3 separate regions of the Homo sapiens genome follow, and all the other regions are linked to region 1. Evidence: promoter capture Hi-C in human tissues and cell types (Jung and others, 2019). All regions are on one chromosome and are shown on one strand. Each heading gives the region's core, a stretch centred on a gene start or on the middle of the fragment in contact. The rest is flanking DNA. Distances are from core to core; before and after follow the strand shown. Region 1 holds the start of NPY5R (neuropeptide Y receptor Y5). Region 2 has its middle 460 kb from the start of MIR4454. Region 3 has its middle 380 kb from the start of FSTL5.

The links. Contacts are between HindIII fragments. The study calls those that stand out against the background at their distance.
Region 2: a fragment that was not itself captured here is called in contact with the fragment with the promoter of NPY5R in region 1 in 1 of the 25 tissues and cell types used here (dorsolateral prefrontal cortex).
Region 3: a fragment that was not itself captured here is called in contact with the fragment with the promoter of NPY5R in region 1 in 2 of the 25 tissues and cell types used here (dorsolateral prefrontal cortex and hippocampus).

What each region holds. Positions count from the first base shown.
Region 1 is chr4:163,342,504-163,346,459 of GRCh38, forward strand. It overlaps NPY5R (neuropeptide Y receptor Y5), which reads left to right and starts at 1,389. Exons shown (of 4, transcript NM_006174.4): 1 at 1,389-1,497; 2 at 3,211-3,250. It also overlaps a transcript of NPY1R not described here. The HindIII fragment of the contact is 9,678 bases long and covers 534-3,956 here.
Region 2 is chr4:162,631,361-162,635,646 of GRCh38, forward strand. No RefSeq gene overlaps it. Among named protein-coding and RNA genes, the nearest start is that of MIR4454, 460 kb to the right of the region's middle. The HindIII fragment of the contact is 8,643 bases long and covers 1-4,286 here.
Region 3 is chr4:162,541,109-162,545,378 of GRCh38, forward strand. No RefSeq gene overlaps it. Among named protein-coding and RNA genes, the nearest start is that of FSTL5, 380 kb to the left of the region's middle. The HindIII fragment of the contact is 3,472 bases long and covers 805-4,270 here.

The sequences.
Region 1 (3,956 bases), core at 139-2,638:
AGGTGCCTGCTCAGACGGCCTATTCTGTTAAGCTTTTGGGGAGAATATATTAATATTTCAGAAATAACACACAGAAGAATAAAACAGGAACTGTGTTTACTTGAGTTCTTTAAAAGCTCTTGGATGACTCTTTGACTGATGAAATAGCAATCTATACAGATCCCCTGAGTATTGAATGCTGAAATCCAGCAGAAAGGGGACACAAAAAATTTTCTTTGACCTCTTCTGTAACAGTGATGTCTGCCCCAGATGTTAGAATTACAAGTCACATTGCTCCCAAGGGGTACAGTTCTCTTCGGTTTATCCCACACGACTCTACTCAGCAGGAGATGCTGTCTGTTACATAATAGTTCTCAGTATTAAAGGGTACAATAACTACACCCTTTCTCATGGTAAAGCTATGTCCAAAGACACATGGACATCTACCCAATGTCTCTTTTCTCCCTTCTCTCCTTCTCTCTCTCTCTCTCTCTCACAGACACACACACACACACACACACACACACACACACACACGCGCGCGCGCCTAAAGTACCTGCCACCTAATGATTAGCTAAAAATAAAGCAAACCTGCGCAATACAGATTTGGAAACATTAGGGATGGAAATCATGTTGGGAAGGAACAGAAGGACAGGTTTTCTCTTCTTCTTTTGTGTGGGCTTTTTTCCCGTCTTTTTTTTTTTTTAACCTGTGACAATTCGTTTTTAGCCCTTCGTCTTCTCTTTGCTATTGAATATAGTCTTGAGCAGCGTTGATTTCATTTCAGCTTCACTCCCCTGCTCCTGCCACTTGCCCACACCCACAGCTGCCACTCCTTGGAGTGGGGAAACTTCCCTTCTATTCTGCTGGGCTCATTACCGCAGACGCTGTTGCCTCTCCTGAACATTGGGTCAGCCTCCCCACCTCCACTCTTCCTTACTTCAAAGAGGTGCAAAGGAAGAGCAGTGTTTTGTCTTTTTTCTTTCTTTCTTTCTATCACCACACCACCCCCCACCGTCCCCCACCCCAAACAAAGATAAAACCTGAGAGTCGAAGCTTGTTCTCAGGAATACTAAGAACTTAGGGGCACAGCCATCCTCACACCAGTCCAAGACTTCTCAGAGTTCACTACACAGGGTTGAGGGCTGGACCGGCAAAACTCGATTTGCCCATCAAGTTAACTTGGTCGGCCTGGGACCCGAGGCCAGGGTGAAGGGACGACATCCCGGGGCCCTGTGGCTTCTCCCTAGAGCGCCCAAACAGCGGCGTAGGTCTGGGACGCCCCCGGCCCCCGGCTTTGGAAGAGGCTGGCGCGGAGCAGGCGCCTTGGAGCAGGGTCTCGGGGGTCCCCGGAACAGTCACGTGTTCTCGAGACGCCGTTAAACCCCCGCCCCCTCTTCCCCACCGCCGCCTCCAGGTCCTGCTCCCGCTGCTGCCGCCACCGCCGGGGTGCAGGAGCGATCGCGCTGGGCCGCGCTCCCGGGAGCCCAGGGCCTGCAGCGGCCGGGGCGCCCCGAGGTACGGGCTCCCGCCCCTCCCTGCCAACCCCTTTCGCGCCGGGTAGGCCTGCACCGAGGGGCCGTGGCGGGTCCCCGCGCGGGCTGCGAGTCTGCGCAGGTCCCTGGGAGCCCGCACCCGTCTCTGGTGCCAGGGCGTTGTCGGGGGTCCCAAGAGAGCGGGGTGGGGAAGGTGAAGGGAGCGCGGCTGGAAAAATGGGGATTAGGGTGGCGGAACAGGCACTTGTCAGGAGTGAAGAGACAGCGGAGAGGGTACTGGGCTGAATTCTTTCGTGCCGAGCAGGTCCCTCCGGTTCCCAACTCACCCGGGTGGAGCAGGCGCGGGCCGAACCCGGGAGGAGAGTGTCGGGGATCCGCGAAGGAGCCTCCTGGGGATGGGGCGGGGGATGGACAAAGCGCTGCCCCCGGCTGGACGCGCTCTGGCTGCAGCCCGGCTGGCATCCGGAGCTGGGAACAGCAGCCCGCGGGGTGCCCGGGTCAGGGCTCAACCCTAGCGGGTCTCTGGCGAGGCCGGGGGCGCAGCCCGCGGGGCGCCACTCAGGCCGTCCAGCTGCCGCGCGGTCCAGCGCTGACCCGAGCCCGGGAGGCAGCTGCGCTCTAAGGTTTGCGCTCCTGTTTGCGAGGTGTCTTCATATAACAAATGCGAGCAATAACAAACATCCATAGAACTCGAATTCCAGAAACGGGAATTCTTTTTTCCAAGTTCACAGACCTTTAGTTAATCTTTTAAAGGAACTGAGGCGTTGTGTTGGACCAAAGCCAAAACGATTTTACCTTAGACCATGGAAAATAGCCTAAGGCTCTTTCAGCAGAATTTTGCAGTCCGAATGCAATTTTAGATTTCAGATTTCTCAAGGGAAGAGAAACTCTGCTGTTAGAATTTGGAAGGGAGGGTGGTGCATGCCTGTGTGTTTGTCAGCTGAGCAGAGCTGTATTTATCTTTCCAATTCAAATTGTGCCAGATTCTGGCTTTAAGAACAAACCATGGGAATATTTGAGAACATGGAATCATGCTGCTGTTCCACGATCACAGCAAAACAGACAATAGTTGATATTGTATCATTGCAGGAGGAAAAAGAATTACATATATTTTATTCTTTTGTGTGATTGTCATCCTTTGTGAAAAGAATGATGTGTATTTTCATAAAGCAAAAAATTATTCAAACAAAGAAACCTTATTTAAATGTACAAGTCAGACTTTTAATATCCTTTGAATTCCCTGCAGTTCCTCCTATTATTCTTGAGAACTATCTACTTTCTTAAAATACTTAAAATCTATTCAGAAGGTTTCATTTGTCTAGGTGTCAGATATAGAAGAGTTTATAAGAAAATTCCAGTAAACCTTTAAAAAGATATTATTTTTTATAAGTTGCCATAGTTTAATAAAGAACTTTTATTTTTCACACTTTTTACTCAGAGATTAAAGTTCTGTGTTTCAGCCTGGAAATTCTGATGGTGGGAGATACAACTAATACAAAAGAGAATGAGTAAATATAGTAATTAGGTATGACAAAAGTCTCATGCTGTCAATATCAGATTTCTTGTCAAATAATATTCCATGTTAAAATATTTTTTCTCTGGCTATATTTCATAATTTATATAGCAATTTCAGAAGATTCACATATATCATTACTTTTATAATAGATAAAATATGTTGCATAAAAATGTACAGCACTCGTAATAACACTTGTTGAAATTTGGATTTCCATTGTAGGTCTGCTCATTGTGTTTTTCAGGAAAAAGGAAGGGAAAGGGTAAGTTTAATGGAAAAAATCCTGCTTTTTTGTTTGTTTTTTCATTTTAAGTGCGTTCCTGTACCTTAGATTTTCAACTTAAATCTTATTGTACAAAATTTTCCTAATGTTTAAACTATCCCCTGGCTACCAGGAGGCACTTTTAAAAAAACTACACGTCCACCACCACCCCTCCCCCACCCCCCCTCCCTGCCTCCAGCATTTGCAATATTCATTATTTAGTCGTAAGAAGAAATTCTTCCTTCATTGGAGCAAAGATTCACAGAATGTTCATTCTGTGCAGACTATATATTAGATATTACATGTGTGTATGTTTATGTGGTAGATGGTGTGGGGTGGGGCTAGAGGGAGAGCAGGAGAAAGTTGACTACAGTCACACCAAAATAAAATGAATAAATGAATGTTGAATGAATGAATGCTAAGAGAGAATTTTTTAAATTTGCTTATCAATCTATCAGTAGCTACATAAAGTATTCATTATATTCAGCAGTAATGCATGTGTCCATGCTATAGAGAAATAATATATTACTATCAGTCAGGAGAATGCCATTCATTTATTAATTCATTCATCATCCAATTTGGGGCCTTTTATATCTCAGCAATCTACAGTTACTCAGGGTGTGAGCTTGAATTAATCTATATAGAATATTCTTGGCATAGCACCTTGCATTAGTCGTCTTTATGCTTAGAGCAGAGCAGAGCACCT
Region 2 (4,286 bases), core at 1,559-4,058, 710 kb before region 1:
GAAACATCAGATTTATAATCTGCACTGTAGACTAAATGGACCAAAGAGGTATTTACAGAACATTTCATTCAACAGCTGCAGAATACACAGCATCCTCAGCACATGGATTATTATCAAGAATGGATCATATATTAGGCCACAAAAAGGTGTTAAAATTTCAGAATAATTGAAATTATACAAGTATCTCCTCTGATCACAATAAAATAAAACTAGAAATCACTAACAAGAGGAATCTTGGAACCTATGCAAACACATGGAAATTAAATAATATACTCCTGAATGACCAGTGGGTCAATGAATAAATTAAGAAGAAAATTACAAAATTTCTTGAAACAAATAATAATGGAAGCACAAAATACCAAAACCTATGGGATGCAGCAAAAACAATACTAAGAGGAAAGTTTAAAGCTGTAAGCTCCTACATCAAAAAAATAGAAAAACATCAAATAAACAGCCTAACAATCCATCTGAGAAAACTAGAAAAGCAAGCGCAAACAACCAAAACTCAGTAGAAGAAAAGAAAAATAAAGATCAGAGAAGAAATAAATAAAATTAAAGTAAACAATACAAAAGATAACAAAAAATTTTTTTAAAAAAACAGTAAACAAAATCAGCAAGCTTTTAGCCAGACTAAGAAAGAAAAAAAAAAGAGAAGACCCAAATAAATAAAATCAGAAATAAAAAAAGAGACATTACAAATGATACTGCAGAAATTCAAAGGATTATTAGAGGCTACTGTGAGCAACTATATGCCAATAAATTGGAAAACCCAGAATGAATGGATTAATTCCTAGACACATACAACCTACCAAGATTGAACCATGAAAAAACCTAAAACCTGAAGAGACAAGTAACAAGTAACGACATTGAATTTGTAATAAAACGTCTCTCAGCAAAGAAAAGTCCAGAATCTGATCATTTCAATGGTGAATTAACCAATAATACCAATCCTACTCAAACTATTTCAAAAGTACAGGAGAAGGGAGTACTTCCATACTCTTTCTACAAGGCCAGTACCAAAACTAGGTTCCTGATACCTGATACCAAAACTAGACAAAGACACAACAACAACAAAATTATAGGCCAATATTCCTAATGAACATTGATATGAAAATCCTCAAAAAAAATACTAGCAAATCGAATTCAACCACACATTAAAAAGAGCAATCATCATGACTGAGTGGGATTTAACACATGGATAAAATAATGGCTCAGCATACACAAATTAATCAATGTGATACATCACATTAACAGAATAAAGAATAAAAACCATACGATTATTTCAATTCATGGTGAAAAAAGTATTTGACAAAATTTAACATGCCTTCATAGTAAAATTACTCAAAAAGCTGAGTATAGAAGAAACATACCACAGTACAACAAAAGTTACATATGATAGACCCACAACTAGTATCATACTGAATGGGGAAAAACTGAAAACCTTTCCTCTAAGATGTGAAACAGGACAAGGATGCTCACTTTAATCACTACAATTCAACATAGTACTGGAAGTCCAAGCTACAGCAATAAGACAACAGCAAGAAATACAGGGCATCCAAATTGTAAAGGAAGAAGTCAAATTATCCTTATCTGCAAATGATGTGATCTCATACTTAGAAAAACCTAAAGACTCTACCAAAAAGCTATTGGAACTGACACACAAATTTAGTAAAGTTGCAGAATACAAAATGAACATACATAAATTTGTAGCAGGTTGGGCCCAGTGGCTCATGCCAATAGTCCCAACATTTTAGGAGGCTGAGGCAGGAGGATTGCTTGAGCCCAGGTGTTTCAGACCAGCTTGGGCAATATAATGAGACCTAATCTCTATAAAAAAATTTTAGAATTAGCTGAGTGTGGTGGCATGTGCCTACAGTCTCAGATACACAGGAGGCTGAGGTAGGAGGATCGCTTGAGCATGGGAGGTGGAGGTTGCTGTGAGCTCAGACTGTACCACTAAATTCTAATCTTGGTGACAGAGCAAGATCCTATCTTGAAAAAAGAAAAAAACTACAAAATCCATAACATTTCTGTATGCCAATAATGAACAATCTGAAAAAGAAATTAAGAAAGTAATCCCGTTTACAATAGCTATGAATAAAATAAAATACCTAGGAATTAACCAAAAAAGTGAAAGATCTGTAAAATAAAAACTATAATATGATGACAAAAGAAATTAAAGAGGACACAAAAAATGGGAAGATATTTTATGTTTATGGTTTGCAAGAATTTACATCGTTAAAATGTCCATACTACCCAAAGCATTGTACAGATTCAAAGCAATGCCTATAAAAATACTGATGACATTCATCACAGAAATAGAAAAAAAATCCGAAATTCATATGGAACCACAAAAGACCCAGAATAGCCAAAGCTATCCTGAGCAAACAGAACAAAACTGGAGGAATCACATTACCCAATTTCAAATTATACTATAGAGCTATAGTATCAAAGCAGCATGATACTGGCATAAAAACAAACATGCAGACCAATGGAACAGAATAGAGAACTCAGAAACAAATCCATAGATCTACAGTGAACTCATTTTTGACAAAGGTGCCAAGAATATACATTGGGGAAAGGACAGCCTTTTCAATAAATGCTGCTGGGAAATCTGGATATCCATATACAAAAGAATAAAACTAGACCTCATCTCTTGACATATACAAAAATCAGATCAGAATTAATTAAAGACTTAAATCTAAGACCTCATATTTTGAAACTACCAAAATAACTTCTCTAGGACATTTGACTAGGCAAAGATTTCTTGAGTAATACCCCACAAGTACAAGCAACCAAAGCACAAATGGACAAATGAGATCACATCAAACTAAGAAGTTTCTTCACAGCAAACAATCAACAAAGTGAAGAGACAACTCACAGAATGGAGAGAAAATATTTGCAAACCATCCATCTGACAAGTGAATAATAACCACAATATAGGAGGAGCTCAAACTATTCTATAGAAAAAAATTCAATAATGCAATATAAAAATGGGCAAAATATCTGAATATACATTTCTCAAAGAAAGACAATTGACAAACAAGTATATGAAAACGTTCTCAACATCAATGGTCATCAGATAAATGCAAATCAAAACTACAATGAGATATCATGTCACCCCTGTTAAAATAGCTTTTATCAAAAAAAAAAAAAAAACAGATAATAACAAATGCTAATGAGGATGTGGAGAAAAGAGAACCCTTGCACCTGTTGGTAGGAATGTAAATTACTACCACCACTTTGGAGAATGATTTGAAATTTCCTCAGGAAACTAAAAATAGAGCTATAATATGATCCAGAAATCCCACTGCTAGATATATACCCAAATAAAGGAAATCGGTATATTGTAGAGCTATATGCACTTTCATGTCTATTGCAGCACTGTTCTCAATAGCCAAGATTTGGAAGCAACCTAAGTGTCCATCAACAGATGAATGGATAAAGAAAATGTGGCACACATTGTATATACACAATGGAGCACTATTCAGCCATAAAAAAGAATGAAATCATATCATTTGAAACCACATGGATGAAATCGGAGATCATTATGTTAAGCCAGACACAGAAAAACAAATATCACATGTTCTCACTCATATGTGGGAGCTAAGAAGGTAGATCTCATGGAATTAGAGAGTAGAATGATGGTTACCAGAGGCTGGGAAAGGTAGTGAGAGTAAGGGGTAAGTGGGAATGATTAAAGAGTATAAAAATATAGTTAGATAGAATGAATAAAATCTAGCATTTGATACCACAACAGGATGACTACAGTAAATAATTTCTTGTACATTTCAAAATCAGTAAAACAGTATAATTGCATTGTTTGTAACACAAAGAAAGGATAAATGCTCAAGGTATTGAATACCTCATTTACTCTGATGTGATTATTATATACTGTATGCCTGTATCAAAATATCTCACGTACAGTAAAAATACATACACCTATGTACTCGCAAACATTGAAAATAAATTTTTTAAAAAAATCAAAGGCATTTTTGAAAAACACAAATTAAGCAGGTTACTATAATAAAAATATTTAAAATGTTGAAAGAGTATGCCATATTAAAACAGCTTTTTAAAAGATTACACTAAATTGCACTTTGAATTTGGATCAAATTTAATACTGTATTCCGTTAACTTACTATCTCACTACAGAATATGACTAGAATGAAGGATATCTATAGACACTGGAAAATAAGAATTGGTCAAATGGTACAACGGTTCAGTTATGTCAGATTAATCATCTCTGTAGATTTAATATATAGGATGGTAACTATAGGTAACAC
Region 3 (4,270 bases), core at 1,291-3,790, 800 kb before region 1:
ACTTTGGTCTGGATACTTCATTCATCTAATCTTCAAGGATGTCATTTGCCGAGAAGTCAAAGTAATATATAAGAAGTAACCATAAAGCTTATACATTTGGATCCAAACAACCTGCAATTTCAAACAGTATATGGTGGTCATGCCAACCTATCTTTTCTCTAATAAGGTCATAATTTCATGTCCCAAATAGTTTGTAATCAATCACAAACAATTACATGAATTCAAACATTTCTCATATTTTTATGCAGGGCAGTGATTATGTAGTTACTTTACTGATTCTTGCTCTTGTGACACAGAGGGAAACATTGAAATGAAAGTCTTCCTGAATCACTAGTACTATTTTTTTAAGATAGAAATGATTAGATATAAAAACACTATCTAAACAAAAACATATTTGCTCTCATTGGGACAGGTTTCTTTTGTGTGTGTAAGTAGGTATAAAGTATGCTCACATGTAGAAGGAACATAAGACATTTAAAATAGTACAATTTTGCTATGATAATTGTGTATGAAGATGATGGATAGTGATAAAAAATAAAGATCACATTCACATTAAATAATTGCTATTATACAAATGTAAAATGACATGGGTTGGTCTATATAGCTCTTGATACTGATACAATTTATCTGTGGTTTTGTCATAAAGAGGACCATTCAAACAACAATATTTTTTCAATAATTATGACCACATGATGATATTATATTATCCTCAGACTCCTCCCATTCTCAATCTACTACTACCAAGTTCCTCTTCCTGATAGCAAAGTTCTATTTATTAAATGGTATTGCAAGCTGAGGATTTTCATTAACTCATTTCCTTTGATCCAGTGTTTCTGATTGCTCATTCTAGAAGTCAGATTTCCCTATAGATAAAAATACAACATAATATATAATTCCTCTGATCTTTGCTGTGACATTTAAGAGAAGAAAAAAATTCACAAATCCAATTATAAAATATATAATGTTAAAGAAAAATAAATTTAGAAACTAATTTGCATCATAAATATTAGATATATAATAAATATTTATTATTTAAATTACCATTTATGCCTTTATAATAACAAGAGTTAAGCAAATCTTATTTAATCTTATATTTTATTCATATTCAGAATTGGGTACACTTTTACTATGTAAGTAAAAAGTGACTCTTTTCATATTCATTTTCCAAGCAGTTCTTAGGAGTGCATTATTTATGAATATAGATGTTCATCTGCATTGCTCCTTTCTAAAAGGTTGTTATTGTGTCTAGATTAGACAATGTATTCAAAACTCAAAGTACAGTGTCTGGCACATCATAAGTCTCAGTACATCTTCCTTCAATTCTCTCCTGATCCTGATATACTAACAATCACATTATCAAAAGGTTCATTATCATTTTTAACATAATCTACTTATTGAAATAGAGCTGTTTCCATTCTTTCATTGTAATTAAAATACTTAATATAGCAGATAATTTACATTTTAATTTTTGCTTCCAGCACTAAAAGAGATTTACAGTCACTTATGAAAAAAAGCATAAAGCTTTTAGCGTTATCATTAGATTATGAGAAAGTATTTTAAAAACTTAAAATAATTACACAATTTTAATGTTTGAAATTAGAACCCATTAGTTTTTCTTTCACAGTTACCCTAAAAACACTCATACACATTTCCATGGCAATAGTACTGGAGCTTTTGTAAGAAAGCATAAATATTGCCCAAAAAAATTAGTGTTCACTAAGATTTCCCTTTTCTGTTCTGGATTCTTTATTCCCAATGATATAATTCTAAGAAATGGTTGTTATATACATATTAAGATATTTTGAAAAGAGAAGGAGAGTTTATGTGGTTTAAATATTATCATTAGTTAGCAAAGTATATTTATATATCTTCTACTTTACAGCTGTTAAAATAATAGTGATGATAGTGTTTAAAATACACACATTTGAAATTATAGGTATAATATGTGTATATATATAAAATGTGTGTGTTTGTGTGTGGAGATACATATATATGTATGTATGTGTGTGTATATATATGTGTGTGTATATATATGTGTAATATATAAGAAGTAACCATAAAGTTTATACATTTGGATCCAAACAACCTGCAATTTCAAACGGTATATGGTTGTCATGCCAACCTAACTTTTCTCTAATAAGGTCATAATTTCATGCCTCAAATAGTTTGTAATCAATCACAAACAATTACATGAATTCATATACATATATACCTCACATGCAAAGACAGAGAAAGAAAGAACATGATGACATATTGGTAATGCAATATTAAATGAATAAATAAGTTGTGGAGTAAATTTCCTATTAAAAAGCAATAAGTAAAACTTTATATGTAATACACACTTTTCAATATGTTTATTTAAACACAGAGATAATTGTTCAAAGTTGCACAACTACCTGATAAAGTTTGGTACTTTGGGGGAAAATAATATGGAGGAGAAGAATGGAGAGATAATTCAACTTTTCTACATACAATTTGTATTGTTTGAATAGTTAAATCCACAGTTTTCCATAGTGGTTGTACTAGTTTACTTTCCCACCAGCAGTGTAAAAGTTTTCCCTTTTCACTGTATCCATGCCAACATCTATTATTTTTTGACTTTTAAATTATGGCTATTCTTGCAGGAGTAAGGTGGTATTGCATTGTTGGTTTGATTTGCATTTCCCTGATAATTAGTGATATTCAGCATTTTTTCATATGTTCATTGGCCATTTTTATATCTTTTATGAGAATTGTCTGTTCATCTCCTTGGCCCACTTTTTGATGGGATTTTTTTTCCTGCTGATTTGTTTGACTTCCTTGTAGATTCTGGATATTAGTCCTTTATCGATTTGTAGATTGTGAAGATTTTCTCCCACTCTCTGGGTTGTCTGTTTACTCTGCTGATTATTTCTTTAGCTGTGCAGAAGTTTTTAAATTTAATTGTCATTTATTTATCTTTGTTTTTGTTGCCTTTGCTTTTGGGTTCTTGGTCATGAAGTCTTTGCCTAAGCCAATGTCTAGAAGGGTTTTTCTGACGTTATCTTCTAGAAATTTTATGATTTCAGGTCTTAGATTTAAGTCATTGATCCATTAAGTTGATTTTTGTGTAAAGTAAGAGATGAGGATCCAGTTTCATTCTTCTACATGTGGCTTAATTATCCCAGCACCATGTTTTGAACAGGTTGTCCTTTCCCCACTTTATGTTTTGTTTGCTTTGTCAAACATCAGTTGGCTGTAAGTATTTGGGTTTATTTCTGGGTTTTCTATTCAATTCCATTGGTCTATGTGCCTATTTTTATGCCAGTACCATGCTGTTTTGGTGACTATAGCCTTGTAGCACAGTTTGAAGTCAGTTAATATGATGCCTCCCAATTTATTCCTTTTGCTTAGACTTGCATTGGCATGTAAACTCTTTTTGGTTCCATATGAATTTTAGGATTGTTTTTTTCTAGTGCTGTGAAGAATGATGGTGGTATTTTGATGGGAACTGCATGGAATTTGTAGATTGCTTTTGGCAGTATGGTCATTTTCACAATATTGATTCTACCAATCCATGAGCATGGGAAGTGTTTCCATTTGTTTGTGTCATCTGTGATTTCTTCCAGTGGTGTTTTGTAGTTTTCCTTTTACTAAGTAGCTTTTTAATCTGCATCCTCCTCCCACTCTCCACCCTCAAGTAGGCCCTATTTTTTGTTGTTCCCTTCTTTGTGTCCATAGTACTCAATGTTTAGCTCCCATTTATAAATGAGAACATGTGGTATTTAGTTTTCTGTTCATGTGTTAGTTGACTTAGGATAATGGCCTCCAGCTCCAACCACATTGCTGCAATGGACAAGATTTCATTCTTTTCATAGCTGCATGGTATTCTATGGTGTATATGTACCATATTTTCTTTATCCAGTCTACTTTTGATAGGCATTTAAGTTGATTTCATGTCTATGCTATTATGAATAGTGCTGAAATAAACACACAGGTGCATGTGTCTTTATGGTGCAATGATTTATATTTCTTTGGATATATACCTAATAATGGGATTGCTGTGTCAAATGGTAATTCTCTTTTAAGTTTATTGAGAAATCACCAAACTGCTTTCCATAATGGCTGAACTAATTTACATTCCTAACAGCAGTGTTGAGCATTTTTTCATGTGCTTGTTGGAAGCATATACGTCTTCTTTTAAAAGGTATCTGCTCGTGTTCTTTGCCTACCTTTTTATAGGGTTGTTTTGTGCTTGTAAAGTTAAATTCCTTATAGACTCTAGATATTAGACCTCTGTTGGATCCATAGT